4 separate regions of the Homo sapiens genome follow, and all the other regions are linked to region 4. The links are contacts of gene promoters, found by promoter capture Hi-C in human tissues and cell types (Jung and others, 2019). All regions are on one chromosome and are shown on one strand. The core of a region is centred on a gene start or on the middle of the fragment in contact, and the rest is flanking DNA. Distances in the headings are between cores, read along the strand shown.

Evidence for each region. Contacts are between HindIII fragments. The study calls those that stand out against the background at their distance.
Region 1: a contact is called between a fragment that was not itself captured here and the fragment with the promoter of ZNF212 in region 4, in 1 of the 25 tissues and cell types used here (dorsolateral prefrontal cortex).
Region 2: a fragment that was not itself captured here is called in contact with the fragment with the promoter of ZNF212 in region 4 in 1 of the 25 tissues and cell types used here (dorsolateral prefrontal cortex).
Region 3: a contact is called between a fragment that was not itself captured here and the fragment with the promoter of ZNF212 in region 4, in 3 of the 25 tissues and cell types used here (dorsolateral prefrontal cortex, hippocampus and spleen).

Annotation. Positions count from the first base shown.
Region 1 is chr7:149,601,702-149,605,327 of GRCh38, reverse strand. It overlaps the pseudogene ZNF767P. Among named protein-coding and RNA genes, the nearest start is that of TRS-AGA5-1, 4.9 kb to the left of the region's middle. The HindIII fragment of the contact is 3,579 bases long and covers 1-3,133 here.
Region 2 is chr7:149,583,524-149,586,745 of GRCh38, reverse strand. It overlaps TRC-GCA15-1 (tRNA-Cys (anticodon GCA) 15-1), which reads right to left and starts at 2,021; the gene lies at 1,950-2,021. It also overlaps the pseudogene ZNF767P. The HindIII fragment of the contact is 5,704 bases long and covers 1-3,222 here.
Region 3 is chr7:149,621,791-149,625,261 of GRCh38, reverse strand. It overlaps the pseudogene ZNF767P. Among named protein-coding and RNA genes, the nearest start is that of TRC-GCA19-1, 10 kb to the right of the region's middle. RefSeq lists silencers at 115-864, 885-984. The HindIII fragment of the contact is 3,946 bases long and covers 170-3,471 here.
Region 4 is chr7:149,237,620-149,241,017 of GRCh38, reverse strand. It overlaps ZNF212 (zinc finger protein 212), which reads right to left and starts at 1,367. Exons shown (of 5, transcript NM_012256.4): 1 at 1,216-1,367. The coding sequence starts at 1,239. RefSeq lists an enhancer at 1,306-1,600. The HindIII fragment of the contact is 24,745 bases long and covers 1-3,398 here.

The DNA.
Region 1 (3,626 bases), core at 95-2,594, 360 kb before region 4:
AGGAGTAGAGCAAAGCGCCATTTGCTAAATGATCAAATTAGACAGAGCCTCAAGTGACACTACACTTGACCAGGCTCTGTCTTCAATGCCTGCTTCTCTGTTGTGTTTTCCTGCCATTCAATGTAAAGATAGTAAGACTTTCTTGCTTTGAGATAGTTTTATTACAGGAACATGTTTTTAACCTATCTAAAATATAAACTTCTGTTGTGTACATAAATCTGAATTATTAAATGTATTTTAGATACTTTTTAAAAAGGTTCATAAAACATGATTAGTATAAGGGATACTAAAAATCATGAATTGTGCTTCTGAATTCTATGCTGTATAGCTGAACCTCCATGAATTTTAAGATTTGTGTCAAAAAAGCTATTTGTTCTCTAAAGCATAGAACGCCATGACATCCTCTAGTTTTTGAGATGGTTGATATAATTCAGTGATCCCTTCTGCAGAAGTTCGCCTTTAAAGCTTAACTGTGACATAAAATTGCCGTTGATAATTGGAACATCTGAACACAACGTAGAACTTTTACTTATACTTTAACATGTTGACATTTCATCCTCTGCAAACTGTCTTGGCCTTATAAGGGCTTACTCATTGAGCAATAGATCTTGGTGGTTTGCCTTGGAAATAGAAGACCGGTACTACCCCATCCCAGGCAGAATGACTGGATCCAGAAGGGGTACAACTAGGAAATGCAGAAAGAGGCTTTGTTCCTGGAAGATGCTGTTCTGGTCTAGTTTTAAGTGCTGTCCACATAAGTGTGAAATGAAAATCAATCTTGGGGCCCCCAAATCACTAAGCTAAAGGCAAAAGTCAAGCTGGGAACTGCTTAGGGCAAACCTGATTTTATTCAAAGTCACCGCTCTGCTTGCTTATGAGATAAATCTGTATCAGATTGCCTCTTTTAGAGAGGCTCATTAGAAACGCAAAAGAATGCAACCTTTCGTCTCTACCTATGACCTGGAAGCCCCCTCCCACCTTCCAGTTGTCCCACCTTCACCTGGCATTGTCCCACCTTTCCAGATGGAACCAGTGTACATCTTATACATATTGATTGATGGCTCGTGTGTCCCTAAAATGTATAAAACCAAGCTGTGCCCCTACCACCTTGGGCACAGGTGGTCAGGACTCGCCTGAGGCGGTGTCACAGACGTGCATCCGCAGCCTTGGCAAAATTCACTTTCCTAATTAACTGAGACCTTTCTCTAGATATTCGGGGTTCAAATAAGGATGAATAAGAAGAGGCAGAGTGGGAACAATGCAGTCTTGGGCTAAGGAGGCTTCTTGGAAGCTCTGCTAAAGCGGGGTCTTGCCCTTAGCTGCAGTCTAGAGCCCCCTGGGAAGCTTTCACCAGCCTGGGCCCCACTCTAGATGTTCCGATTTAATTGGTCTGGGGTGGGGCCCGGGAAGTGGCACTTTTACGGACTCTTCAGGTGATTCTAGTTTATACCTGGGGTTAAGAACCACCACATTCTAGCCTCACCATTTGCTGGTTTCAGAAGAAAAAAAAAAAAAAGAAAAATGAAACATTTACCCTAGTGTCTAAGTGTCTAATAAGGAAGAACTTAAAATGTGGGCACCTATGTAAAAATGTCAAAATTGAAAATGCGGAGGGGGCATCTGGAATCAAACTGGTGGCCTCTCGGTCTGCAGTCTTATGCTCTAACCCTGAGCTATACCCCTTCCTGCTGCTGTGGGGGTCAATTAATGCCTTTGACTTGTGCGGTCACACCCAGATGACCAGTCACCTGTGTGTTGCCACTTCACAATGGAAGCTCCTAGGAGCTGCCAGGTCTACCTCAGTGAAAACTCATTGACCTTGTGCATAGCAAGAGGCAGTCCCCGCTCCTCAGATAACCCCCGTGCCTGTGTCTTCCCTGCCTTGAGTCCTTAGTTATGGGCAGCAGGCTGGAAAAGCACTGCCAGCAGCCACTAGAATGGCCTTGAGAGTCATCCTCCAGTAACTGTTTATGGTGGGCACATACAAGAGAAACTTTGTGTGACTGAGGTGTCTGTTCTAAAACACTTAATGACAGAGTTGGGCCTGGCTCTCCTGGTCCAGTGTTCCAACACAACTACAATCTAGGACAGAAGGTGATTCTTCCAGCTTTCACTTCTTCAATTAATATTAATGGAGAATGATAGAGAAGGAGCGACTCCAAGAAATAGTGAGAAGGCGGTAGCTGAGTAGATTTTGGAATCCCCGAAAGCCTTAAGAGGGCCAGCGTTAACATAGTTTCAAGGACCAGAATATGTTGCTAGACAACAACCCCACTTGATTCATTTTTGTCTTTAAGTAACAGGGTGTTTTCCTGTCATCCAGAGTGGAGTGCAGTGAAACAATTATAGCTCACTTCAGCTTCCCAAGTAGGTGGGACCACAGGTGTGTACCATCATACCCAGCTAATGTATTTTATTTTTTGTAGAGGTGAAGTCTCACTATGTTGCCCAGGCTGGTCTTAAACTCCTGGTCTCAAGCGATCCTCCTGCCTTGACCTCCCAAAGTGCTGGGATGAGAGACATGAGCCACTGTGTCCAGCCTCCCACGTGACCTTCCTGATGGCAGGCAGAACCCTGTCCTTTCTAGAAGGAAGACTTGGAGGAACACTTGGGTTAACTCCTTTTCACCTCCTCAGCTGTGCCAAGGCCCCGCCTCTGCTCTTGTCATAGGAGCTGGTAAACTGTCTCTTCTTCAAACTGCCTTTCTTTCCTGCTGGAATTTTCTCCTTTACCCACAGGCCTTTGCCTTGTAGCCCTGGGCACCTTCTCAGAAGGCAGCCAGCAGCCAGCCACTCCTCTCCGCTCCTGGCCTGACAGCCTCGGGAAACACTGACTTCCGCAGTGATTTATATGATAACGTTAAAATCCTCTGGGTTTCCCTTTTCGGCAGTAGGGTGGACTGCCAAGGAAGATGCGGAGGATTGATGAGCCTGCAAGAGCACAGAACTCCCCACTGGCAGGGCCTGGGCAGCAGCCTGGCAGGCAGATCACCTGAGGTCGGGAGTTTGAGACCGGCCCGAGCAACATGGAGAAACCCCATCTCTACTGAAAATACAAAATTAGCCGGGCCTGGTGACTCTTGCCTGTAATCCCAGCTACTCGGGAGGCTGAGGCAGGAGAATTGCTTAAACCCGTGAGGCGGAGGTTGCGGTGAGCCAAGATCGCGCCATCACACTCCAGCCTGGGCAACAAGAGCGAAGTCCAGGAAGTCGCAGAAGACCCTGGACATCGCTGGATTCTGGAGGCCCGGATGTCAGTAGTACAATGATGAATGGGCATTTCCAAGAAGAAGTCTTAGGCCCCACCCATGGTGAGGAATCAGGAAGGAGACAGTCTTGCACTAAGGCAGGATACGAGAAGGGCTAAGCAGTGGCCGGGCGCAGTGGCTCATTCCTGTAATCCCAGCACTTTGGGTGGCTGAGGTGGGCAGATCACCAGGTCAGGAGTTGGAGACCAGCCTGGCCAATGTGGTGAAACCCCGTCTCTACTAAAAATACAAAAATTAGCCGGGTGTGGTGGCGGGCACCTATAATCTCAGCTACTCGGGAGGCTGAGGCAGGAGAATCGCTTAAAATAGGAACGTGGAGGTTGCAGTGAGTCCAGATCGCGCAGCTGCTCTCCAGCCT
Region 2 (3,222 bases), core at 264-2,763, 350 kb before region 4:
CTAAGCCTGGATTCACAGAAGGCCAATTCTTTTTTTTTTTTTTTTTTTGAGACGGAGTCACGCTCTGTCTCCCAGGCTGGAGTGCAGTGGCGCGATCTCGGCTCACTGCAAGCTCTGCCTCCCGGGTTCACGCCATTCTCCTGCCTCAGCCTCCCGAGTAGCTGGGACTACAGGGGCCCGCCACCATGCCCGGCTTATTTTTTGTAATTTTAGTAGAGACGGGGTTTCACCATGTTAGCCAGCATGGTCTCGATCTCCTGACCTCGTGATCTGCCCGCCTCGGCATCCCAAAGTGCTGGGATTACAGGCATGAGCCACCGCGCCCAGCCACAGGAGGCCAATTCTAAATGCATTTGAGATACTAGGAATTTCTTGCTATAATGTAGAAAGAATACATTGGCTTCAGGGGGTAGGTAAGCTGGAGTGGATTTATCACACGTGACTTGCCCTGGCTTGAAAAATACCTAGGTGTGTGGAGCTTCTACATTCATGAAAAGAATCCTGGTAGCTGTTCTCTGTAGACAAAAATGCTGGTGGGAGTGATGATAGCGGAAAGGAAGCTCCTGATTTCAGTGGGGCTAGGAGGATCGTAGGGTGTCAGAGGCCAAGCAGTGGACACTTTACCACAGAATGTTATTCCATGGTCTCTGCCACACAGGTCTTGGCTGTGACTCATCAGTGGGAGGATTCTAGGCCTGACAATGGGGAGCCCATCATGGTCCCCTAGACGTGTAGACCTGAGCTACCACCATAGCCGGCACAATGGAGGTTCCTGGCCTCTGACCCATTCCCCAGGTCTGAATCTGCTCAAAGAACCTGCCTCCCCTGATGACGAGAAAGCCAAGCTTGAGAAAAGTACTCTGCCAAAATACCCAGTCATGGACAGTGAATCCTCCTGCCAGATTTCCCATAATAGCCCCTTCAGCCATTTGCCTGGAAACTGCACTGAGGAGTGGGAAATATCCACATAATTGGGGATTATTGGTGGCTCTGCTGCATCTGTGAAGCTCCTGGAGGTTTGGTATTTTTGGGAACATCAGAATATTCCAGAAAAGACCACATCCTGCATCTTGCTTTGTTCAGCTACCACCACCATCAGAGGGGGCTCGAGAGACCACAGTTACTACCCATGGTGTGCTCCTCTCACCCAAAAGGCTACAGACTGCAAGGTTTTCATCACATAATAATGAGATGAGCCTTAGGGGACAGACCAAAAGGTTCCAATCAGGGTGCCCTTTACGGATTCTTATTTTTATTTACTGATTTTGGAATCTGACACCAGCTTCCTTTCCCTTGCTGGAGCCCATGATCTGTATCTGTCTGCATGGAGGAGAGAGAAGAGGTTGATGGGATCAGGTCAGTCCTCTGGGTAGTCCCAGCTGACTTCCTCTATCATCTCGCTCCTTGCCCACAGTCTCACAGAGCCTCCCAGAATCCTGCTTTTCCCCAGTCCTTGGTCTGGGTAGGCCAGGGTGTGAGTCTGCAGCAGCCCCAGATGGGAAATCCAGAACCTGAGGGCCCAGAGCCAAAGTCCAGGGTGCAGCACACTTAGAAATCTAAGCTCATTAGATTTCTCATACCTGTTGGAGGCGGGCATGAAACTGTGGCTGGTTCAGGTTCTCCTGTGCCACAGTGGAAGCTGGGTGCTGTGGAGAATACAGCAGGACTTAGAGACATGGCCCAGCCCTCTCTTGGGAATCACATGGATGTGCCTGGGGAGATTCTGGAGAACTCTGCAAAAGTCCTGGAGTGGTATCCAGAGGGCTGCAGGAGACAGATGTGCCTTACAAACTTTAAAACCCATGAAATCACCTGAGGGCTATTGAGTCTGCACTTCAGAGATGCTGTGGGTCAGAGATTAGATAGGCTGTGTCATTTTTTTTGCAGGGTGGATTGGGTGGAGCTTATGACCCAGGACCCACTTTGGTGATTAAAAAGTAGAACAGTGTAGGGGGCACCTGGATTTGAACCAGAGACCTCTTGATCTGCAGTCAAATGCTCTACCCCTGAGCTATACCCCCAGTCATAGGTAGACAGTGTAATTAACACCCTTTTCATGTGTCAGCACAGCAAGAGCAAGACCGAGCTCTTCCGGCTTGGATGTCTACGCCGGTTGTTTCTCTGAATTCTGGCCTCCCTCCTGTCACTGATACTTCTTTCTCCATCACTTTTGTGTGTACCTGGTTAAGGACACCCTGGTAGCCTTGTTGAGCTTTATAAATGGAGAGACCCTTCAAGTCATCCAGATAATTCTCTTAGACAGTAGCAATTGTTGAGCATCATGTGAGGTGTGCTAGGCTGGGGATGGAACTCTAACTAGGTGACACCACCTTCTCCAGCACTGAAAGGAAACCAGAGCCTGTGTCTGGAGACTTGTATTTGACGTAGAATACTGTTCATGATAATTTGTCAAGGGAAAAGCAAATTGCTTTTGTTAAAAAAAAATACTCAAAAAATAATACTTAGTCTTTTAAAAATGTGGCACATATTCACTGTGGAATACTACGCAGCCATAAAAAAGAATGAGATCATTTCCTTTGGAGCAACATGGATGGACCTGTAAGGGCATTAGCCTTAGCCACTAACACAGGAACAGAAAATCAAATAATGCATGTTCTCACTTACAAGTGGGAACTAAATGATGAGAACACATGGACACAGAGAGGGGAATGCCACACACTGGCACCTACTTGAGGGTGGATGGTGGAAGGAGAGAAGATCAGAAAAAATACATATGCATAGTACGTGGCTGATGAAATAATCTGTACACCAAGCCTACATGACATGAGCTTACCTATATGACAAACCTGCATATGTACCCCTGAACCTAAAATAAAAACAAAAAAAAAAAGAAAACATAGAAAAGATGATTCTCTACAGAGTATCACTTGTGGTAATTTATCCTTCAAAAATATTCCTATAATTGCATGAAGACACATGTATGTGGAGATTCATGATAGCGGTTTTTTAATTCCTCACAGCAAACACTGGAGACCATCAAAATATCCATTGGCAGGGAATTGGTTAAAACCAGGCTTTCTCTCTTACCCTGGAGGGGTTGAGGAGAAGGTGAAGATGCAGAGAAGCAGAGGATGCTCAGGGAACTCTATATCTTGGTCTTCTCAGTCAGGTAGAAAACAGGTCATCCAAAGAGAATAAAGGAGGTAGGGTGGGAATCATTACTTGGGAAGAAGGGCAAAGCGTGAACCAGGCATGGTGGGA
Region 3 (3,471 bases), core at 893-3,392, 380 kb before region 4:
TAAGTAGCATCTACCGGTATATTCCTATTGTTCGAAGTATTTATTCCACTTCAAACACAGATGGGGATGAGTTACAGCTGCCCCCCGAAAACAGCCCAAACCTCCAGGCCCAGGACCTCGGGCGGCAGAAGTGCCTGTTCGGCCGCGCCGGGGCCCAGCTGGGCGAGGGGGCCACACTGCCCGCGGTCACCGGGGAGGGCCCTGCCTGGAAGCCCCTGCTTGCCCGCGGGCGCGGCCAGGCGGGTCTTATGAGGGGGACTCTTTCGGTAACCGAGTCCCTCGGCCTGGGTCGCGGGGCCAGCGCAGTGACTGCGCGCGCACACGCGGCAGTCGGGGAAGGGGCGAGGGGTCGGCCAGGGGTCGCGGGGTCAGCTCCCGGGCGCGGGCCAGGCGGGGTCGCGCCTGCAGTTCGCCTCCGGAGCTGCAGGTGGGGCTGTGCGGCTGCCTGCCTCCAGGAAGCCTCATGTGCCTTCGTCGGCCGCGCCGGCTCCCAGGATACAGTGCGGACCGGCCGGGCGCTAAAGGCGTTGACGCAACTGCGGGCGGCGCAGGGCAGGGGCAGTCAGGGAGCAGCGGCGGCAGAGACAGGGCTGGGCGGGCGCCGCCTGCGGAGAGCACCGGGAGGCGGGCCCTGCGTGGGGCCGCGCGCAGCAGCGGCGACGACTTTATCTGGGCCGCGGGGGACAGCGCAGGGCCATGGAGGAGGCGGCCGCAGCTCCGGTAAGGGCGACCAGCGCGCGCACGAACTCGCGGCCTGGATTCCCCGGGCGACCCGGGCCCGGCACACGGGGGCTGCGGGAGCCGAGCCGTACTACCGCGCCTGGGGCTCCGGGGAACAGGGCCGCGGCGTCTGCCGGGGCCTACTGCGCTTGCCAGCCGGGCCCCCCACTCCGGGCCGAGCCCGAGCGCTGGCGGAACGGTTGTCCCCGCCCCGGGCCGCCCCACGCCAAGATCCTTGGCCCCTCCGGGGCTTCCTGCCCCCGCCCCAGCCGCTGAACCCTACATCTGCGTCCCCCCACCCGAGGCTCTTTTCTCTGCTTGGCGCTCGGCCTGTGGGTCCCTCCCCCAGCTCCCCCCAGCGGCTTAGTGGTACCTGGGAGTTGTGAGGCTTCGAATCCGCGTATACCGACACCCCTTACGTGCCCAGCTCCCCAGGGTCGGCGCGGAAGGGAATATAGAGCCAGGTACTGCACCAAGTCCTGTTGAGGCCTTAGTCTGTCCTTCTGTCCTCACAGCAAGCCTGTGGGATGGGTACTGGTGTTATCTCTGTCATGCAAAAGAAAAACCTGGGGCTTAGAGAAGTTAACTTGCCCAGGCTTGCACACCTGGAAGTGTGAAAAGACACACAGTGGCTGTGTGTTCAAGGACCAGGCAGGCAGGTACGCGGGCAATAATTGTGCAAAATAGGAAGGGGTGAGTGTTGGCGCCCAGGTGGAAGCTTGCGGTGGGCTCCGGGGGAAGGAGTGTCAGGGGGCCTCTTGGTACCGCTGTCCACCCCTCCTGGCCTGATGCTCTGCGCCTCTGTGATTTGAGCCGGGCTTTTAGGGACGGCTAGGATTTCAGGCCCAGCTAGACCGGTGGTGCTTTCAGGGAGGGAGGAGTGCCTGGGCAAAGGCGCAGAGAGACGGGACAGTGCAGGGCGTGTGCAGGCACAGAAAGGAGTCCATGAGCCTGGAGAAGATGGTTTTGGTTTGGAGGCAGTGGGAAAGGAGTCTGCAGAGAGAGACTAGGAAGGGGCTTGCATGCCAGGACTTCATCCTGCGGGTGGGCGGCCAGTGAGGGATCGGGCTCCTCTTACCATCAGCTCCTCTCAAGCAAAGAGTTTCGGCTTCCTGGCAGGAGTCCAAGGACAGCCCCACATATTCCAGCCACTTGTCAGTAAGAAGCTGGGCTGGAGTGAGCAGCGCACAGTCGACACCTCCCACCACATAGTGTGAAGGCCTTACACAGGGTTTCCTGGCCCCATCAGAATTGTGAGAAAACCATGTACTTTATTATCCATGAGTAAAAGACTAATATTTTCTTAATAAAGTAGTTTATGCAGAGGTCCCTTTCATGCCACACAAAGACTGTAATAATGCACGTGGAGGATGGGTAGGATTTCAGTGGATGGGGAGCTGGTGACCAGTTGAAAGGAAGCTTCTGGAGTAAACTCTTGGCGTTCGACTTCACGTGGCAGGGATTGATCTAAGAAAGGAGAGGTGAGGGAACAGTGGCCTTAGGTGGAGGGCAGACTCAAACCCAGAACCAAGCGGGCCCACCCAGGTACTTGTAGGACCACCTACTCCTTGAGAGCAAGACTCGCCATCCACATTGGGGTTTTCGCCTAGAAACAGTTCAGCTTGTCCAGAACCTCCCAGCCTTGAAGACCTTTTAGAGTCCTACCTTCTTTGGGTCCTGTTTCCCTCCAAACAGCCAGACAGGCCCTTGAGTACTGTCCTGGAGAAGTTTTTTTCTGCTTCTGCTCAAACTCTCCTTTTGTCTCTATTTTTTGAGGTATCTATTCACATTGTAGTTCTCAGTGACTTTCCCTGAGTGCATCCACACTGGTTTCTAGTAGCCACTTCTTCATTTTGCAAACAATCACCAACCTTTTGTTGAGGAATTATTTTGCAGAATGTTGTAAGGGGGCGTCGATCCTTGGGCATGGATACCAGGAGCTTCTCTCTGCCCTATAGGTCCCACATTCAGATGTGGGTGGCTCAAATAGTCCAGCTCCCCACCCAAGGCAAAATGTGCTCATTCTTCCTTGTCCCCAGCTGCCAGTCACTGATACACCATGTGAATGTTTCCAAGGACAGGGAAGCCCCTCATCTCGAATTAAGATGGTTTTTGCCCATATATAAGTGTAAGTTTGTGGCATATGTCCATTTTCCTCACCAGAGTGTATGTCACCACTCCTAGTACAGCTACAAAAATGATTGAAGCCATCATTTTTACCTTGAGGAGATGGGAATTGGGAAAGAGAAAGAATCTTGTAGGGCTCATGCAGTGTCAAAAAACTCTGGACTGATGGAGATTTGCAGTCATGGGGATTTTAGCTTGTGGGGAGGGGCAGATGGGAAGGGGACAAAATGAGACTGTCCTGGGGGAAGAGGAACTGGCCATTAGATTTTTATGTTTATTAAAAGGGGACATAAGATGCTTTAAAAAAAATGAGCAGTACTCTTGTTTGTGCGGTTTCAGTGAACGAGCTGTGGTTTTTTTTTTTTTTGGCTGGGTCATCATCAGTAGACAGTTCCTGTGTAATCATGAGGGGAGGTGCAGGCTGGGCTCTAGTAAATCTGCAGTTTACCATTTCCCCACTAAAATACCGAGCAATGCTAAGTCACACTATACGTAGCAAAACTGCACTGAGTGCCAGGCATGTGTCAAGGACCGTGGTGTGAAAAGGTGCAATACCATGTTCAGGGAGCCAACAGTGTAGGCGTGGGTAGGAAATTACTGTGTAGGGTGATAAGCACCGTGATA
Region 4 (3,398 bases), core at 118-2,617:
GCCAAGTCTTTGACTGGCTCAGCCTAGCTTATAGGAGTCAGATGAGGTTAATATTGTAAACATTTGTGTCTTGTCTTCCCAATTCAACTGTTAACTTCCTTGAAAGCAAATACTGTGTTCTCTAAGTCTCCCAATCTCTCCGTTCTTAGTTCTTAACGCACTTTCTACAAGAATCAAATATAGCGCACCCTGCTCATGGTCAAATTTTCCCCACAGAATTTCCTTAGCCCTCCATTCTCACAAAGATCTAACATGATTCTCGAAGTGTTTCTAGACCAAGGAACACTTCATTAAAAGTCAATTCAATTCCAGCTGCCCCTTCCGTTGCAAACCCTCTGGTGTTGTTAAATTAACCACTACTTTGAAACAGTATGGGAACAGTATGAGAATGTCGGAGCTGGAAGGAAACTTAAAGCCTTGGAGATCATCTAGCAACTACTCCAACACTCTCGATTTACAGTTAAGAAAACGAAAGAGACCCAGAGAAGCGAACACAGTTGCCTAAAATCACCCAAATGGACAGCTGAAAGCTTCGTGACTCCACAAATAGGATTTTCCTCACACCAAACTCCGTATCTTGACATTCCCAGAATGGGGATGGTCGGTGGGCTGGGAGGGGGGTGTTGGGGGGGGGGTGAAGGAGAGAGTTTGGGCAGCTCTACAAACAAAATGCAGCAACTGCACTGTAGATAACATCCGTCCCCAAGGAGAAGCAGCCCAGGCTGACTTCAACCTGTGGCTGCAACCCCCAGACAGAAATCTGCAGCACTGGAAAAACCGACAACACATCGGACCGAAGAGGAGGTGGTCGCAGAGAGGCAAGTCCTGGGGTCTCCCGGGCAGCGGGAGAGCTCACTCGTAGCGACGGAGACCGTTTCCAATCTGGAAACACTCCAACCTGGGAACGGGCTCTTTTGGCACGAAAGAGAAAATGTGTGGGCAGGGTCACAAATCCACCAACCTAAAGCAAGCGTCAGAGAAGTTTCTGGGCAAGGGCGCACGGCGCCGAGGCTCCGACCCCGCTGCAGAAGGAAGCGGAGGGAAAAAAGGGCAGAGCACTGGGGTCGCGAAGAGGAGGGTCCGCGTTCACCCGCGCCAACGGCAGCCCCGGGAAACCAAGACCCCGGCGGCGTCCAAACCGCGAAGCCCCGCCCCCGGCAGGGGACTCCGCCATCCCCAACGCGCCCTCGAGCCAGCGCGCCGGTGCCTCTTTACCCGAGCAGGCGCCGACTCCGCCATGGCTCCAGTCGCCCCTCAACACCCAGACCCCGCCTCGGAGCCCCCGTGCTGCGTTCCTGTCCGCTCGGCGCCCCAGAGCCTGTTGGAAGCCGCCGCCGCCGCCGCCGTGTTGATGCCAGGTGCATTCTGGGAGCAGCGACCTCCCCGGCACAAGACCGGCTCCAGCCGCTCTTCCTCACTGTGCAGGCTTCCCATTGTGCCCCCGTGCGGCGGGAGGGAGAACGCTGCTTGGCACTCCCGGCCAGAGTGCGGGCACCAGGAGGGCTCAGTCACTCAAAAGTCAAGACCAGGTTCCGCGTTTCAGGCAAAGCCACGGGATCCTGCTGTCTTCCGTATGCCCAGCACTCTGCTAAATGCTTTGAGGGATTCAAAAATGTGTACAACTCAGACTTTTTGCTGAGGAAAGAACATGTAATGTTGTTGGGGAAAAGAAATATGGTTCCAAAAGGCAAGTGATTTTATTCCAAAAGTTCACCTGTTATTTGGCTTTTTAGAAACTGGGAACAGTTTCCATATCAACAGTGTGGAGCGTGGGGTCAGGCCCAGGCCAGCCCTCTGTAGCCTGTTAATTATGGTAATCATGTGCCTTGGAAAGTCCAAGACAACCCTGATTTCAAATATTTCCAGTCCTCATGCTACATGTAAGACGATGTGTCTGGAATTTTTGTTGGAAAGCACGGCCACATGACCATTTAATCGCCATGTACTTAATCCCCAATACCAGCAACACTACGGCAACCATAGCTGCCTAATTTATACCATTGTCTCTCTGGAGACAAGCAATGAACTTCCACTTCACAGGATAGGCGTGAAGTGTTTCCTCTGAGAACGAAACTTTTTTTTTTTGAGATGGAGTTTCGCTCTTGTTGCCCAGGCTGGAGTGCAATGGCGCAATCTCGGCTCACTGCAACCTCCACCTCCCGGGCTCAAGCGATTCTTCTGCCTCAGCCTCCCTAGTAGCTGGGATTACAGGCATGTGCCACCACGCCTGGCTAATTTTGTATTTTTAGTAGAGACGGGGTTTCCCCATGTTGGTCAGGCTGGTCTCAAACTCCCGACCTCAGGTGATCCGCCCACCTCAGCCTCCCAAAGCGCCGGGATTACAGGTGTGAGCCACCCCACCCGGCGGAGAACGAAACTTTTAAGATCATGACTGGCTCCTTCCTCACATGCAGGGCTCAGTTCAGATTCTACATCCTCAGAGAGATATCCCCAGTCCCCCCTTTCTACAGCCCCACACCATCCTCCATCTCAATACTCAATCTCGTTACCCTGCTGGAAATTTTTCATACCATTTATCACCATCTGAAGTAATCTCTCTTTTTCACTCATTTACATATTAATTATCTGTATCTCTTCCACTGAAATGTCTGTCTACTGTATCCTCCATTTGTTGTACACAGAAGTGTTCATATTTGTAAATGATTGAATGGTGAATCAGAGTGTAAGGATATGAAATGTCATCTCAAACAGAGGCATTATTTCCAGGGCAACTAGATCAACGGGCACGTCACTGAATCATTAATAAATCTAGAGAAAGAATGGGCCAGGCTGAAGAAACCGGTCAGTCAGGGAGATCCTGTCCAGAGGGTCTGACCTAATCTCTCAGACCAACAAACTCTTGGTGTCAGATACAGAAAAAAAAAAAAATGTGTCATGGGTGAGGTGGCTCATGCCTGTAATCCTAGCACTTTGGGAGGGCAAGGCAGGAGGATCACTGGAGTTTGAGACCAACCTGAGCAAATAGGCAGACCCTGTCTCTACAAAATTAAAATTAAAATTAAAATGAGCCAGGAGTAGTGGTGCACACCTGTAGTCTCAGCTACTCAAGAGGTTGAGGTGGAAGAATCATTTGAACCCAGTAGTTCAAGGCTGCAGTGAATCACGATCGCACCACTGCACTCCAGCGTAGGCAACAGACCAAGATCTTGTCTTTAAAAATAAAATAAAAATGTTATCCTCCACAGGCACAATATCAGGACATAGGATGCTGAGGTCATTAAACAGTTCGGTCGTAGAACTCATTCCCTCTATTCTATTTCTATACTCACAAGGCAACCTTCTGACGTTGCATGTTGCCAGGTAGCTTCTGGGAGGCAACATGCAGGTGAAGCTGATGCACATGTATACCTCAGTCTCTTGAAAATGAGCATGTTTCA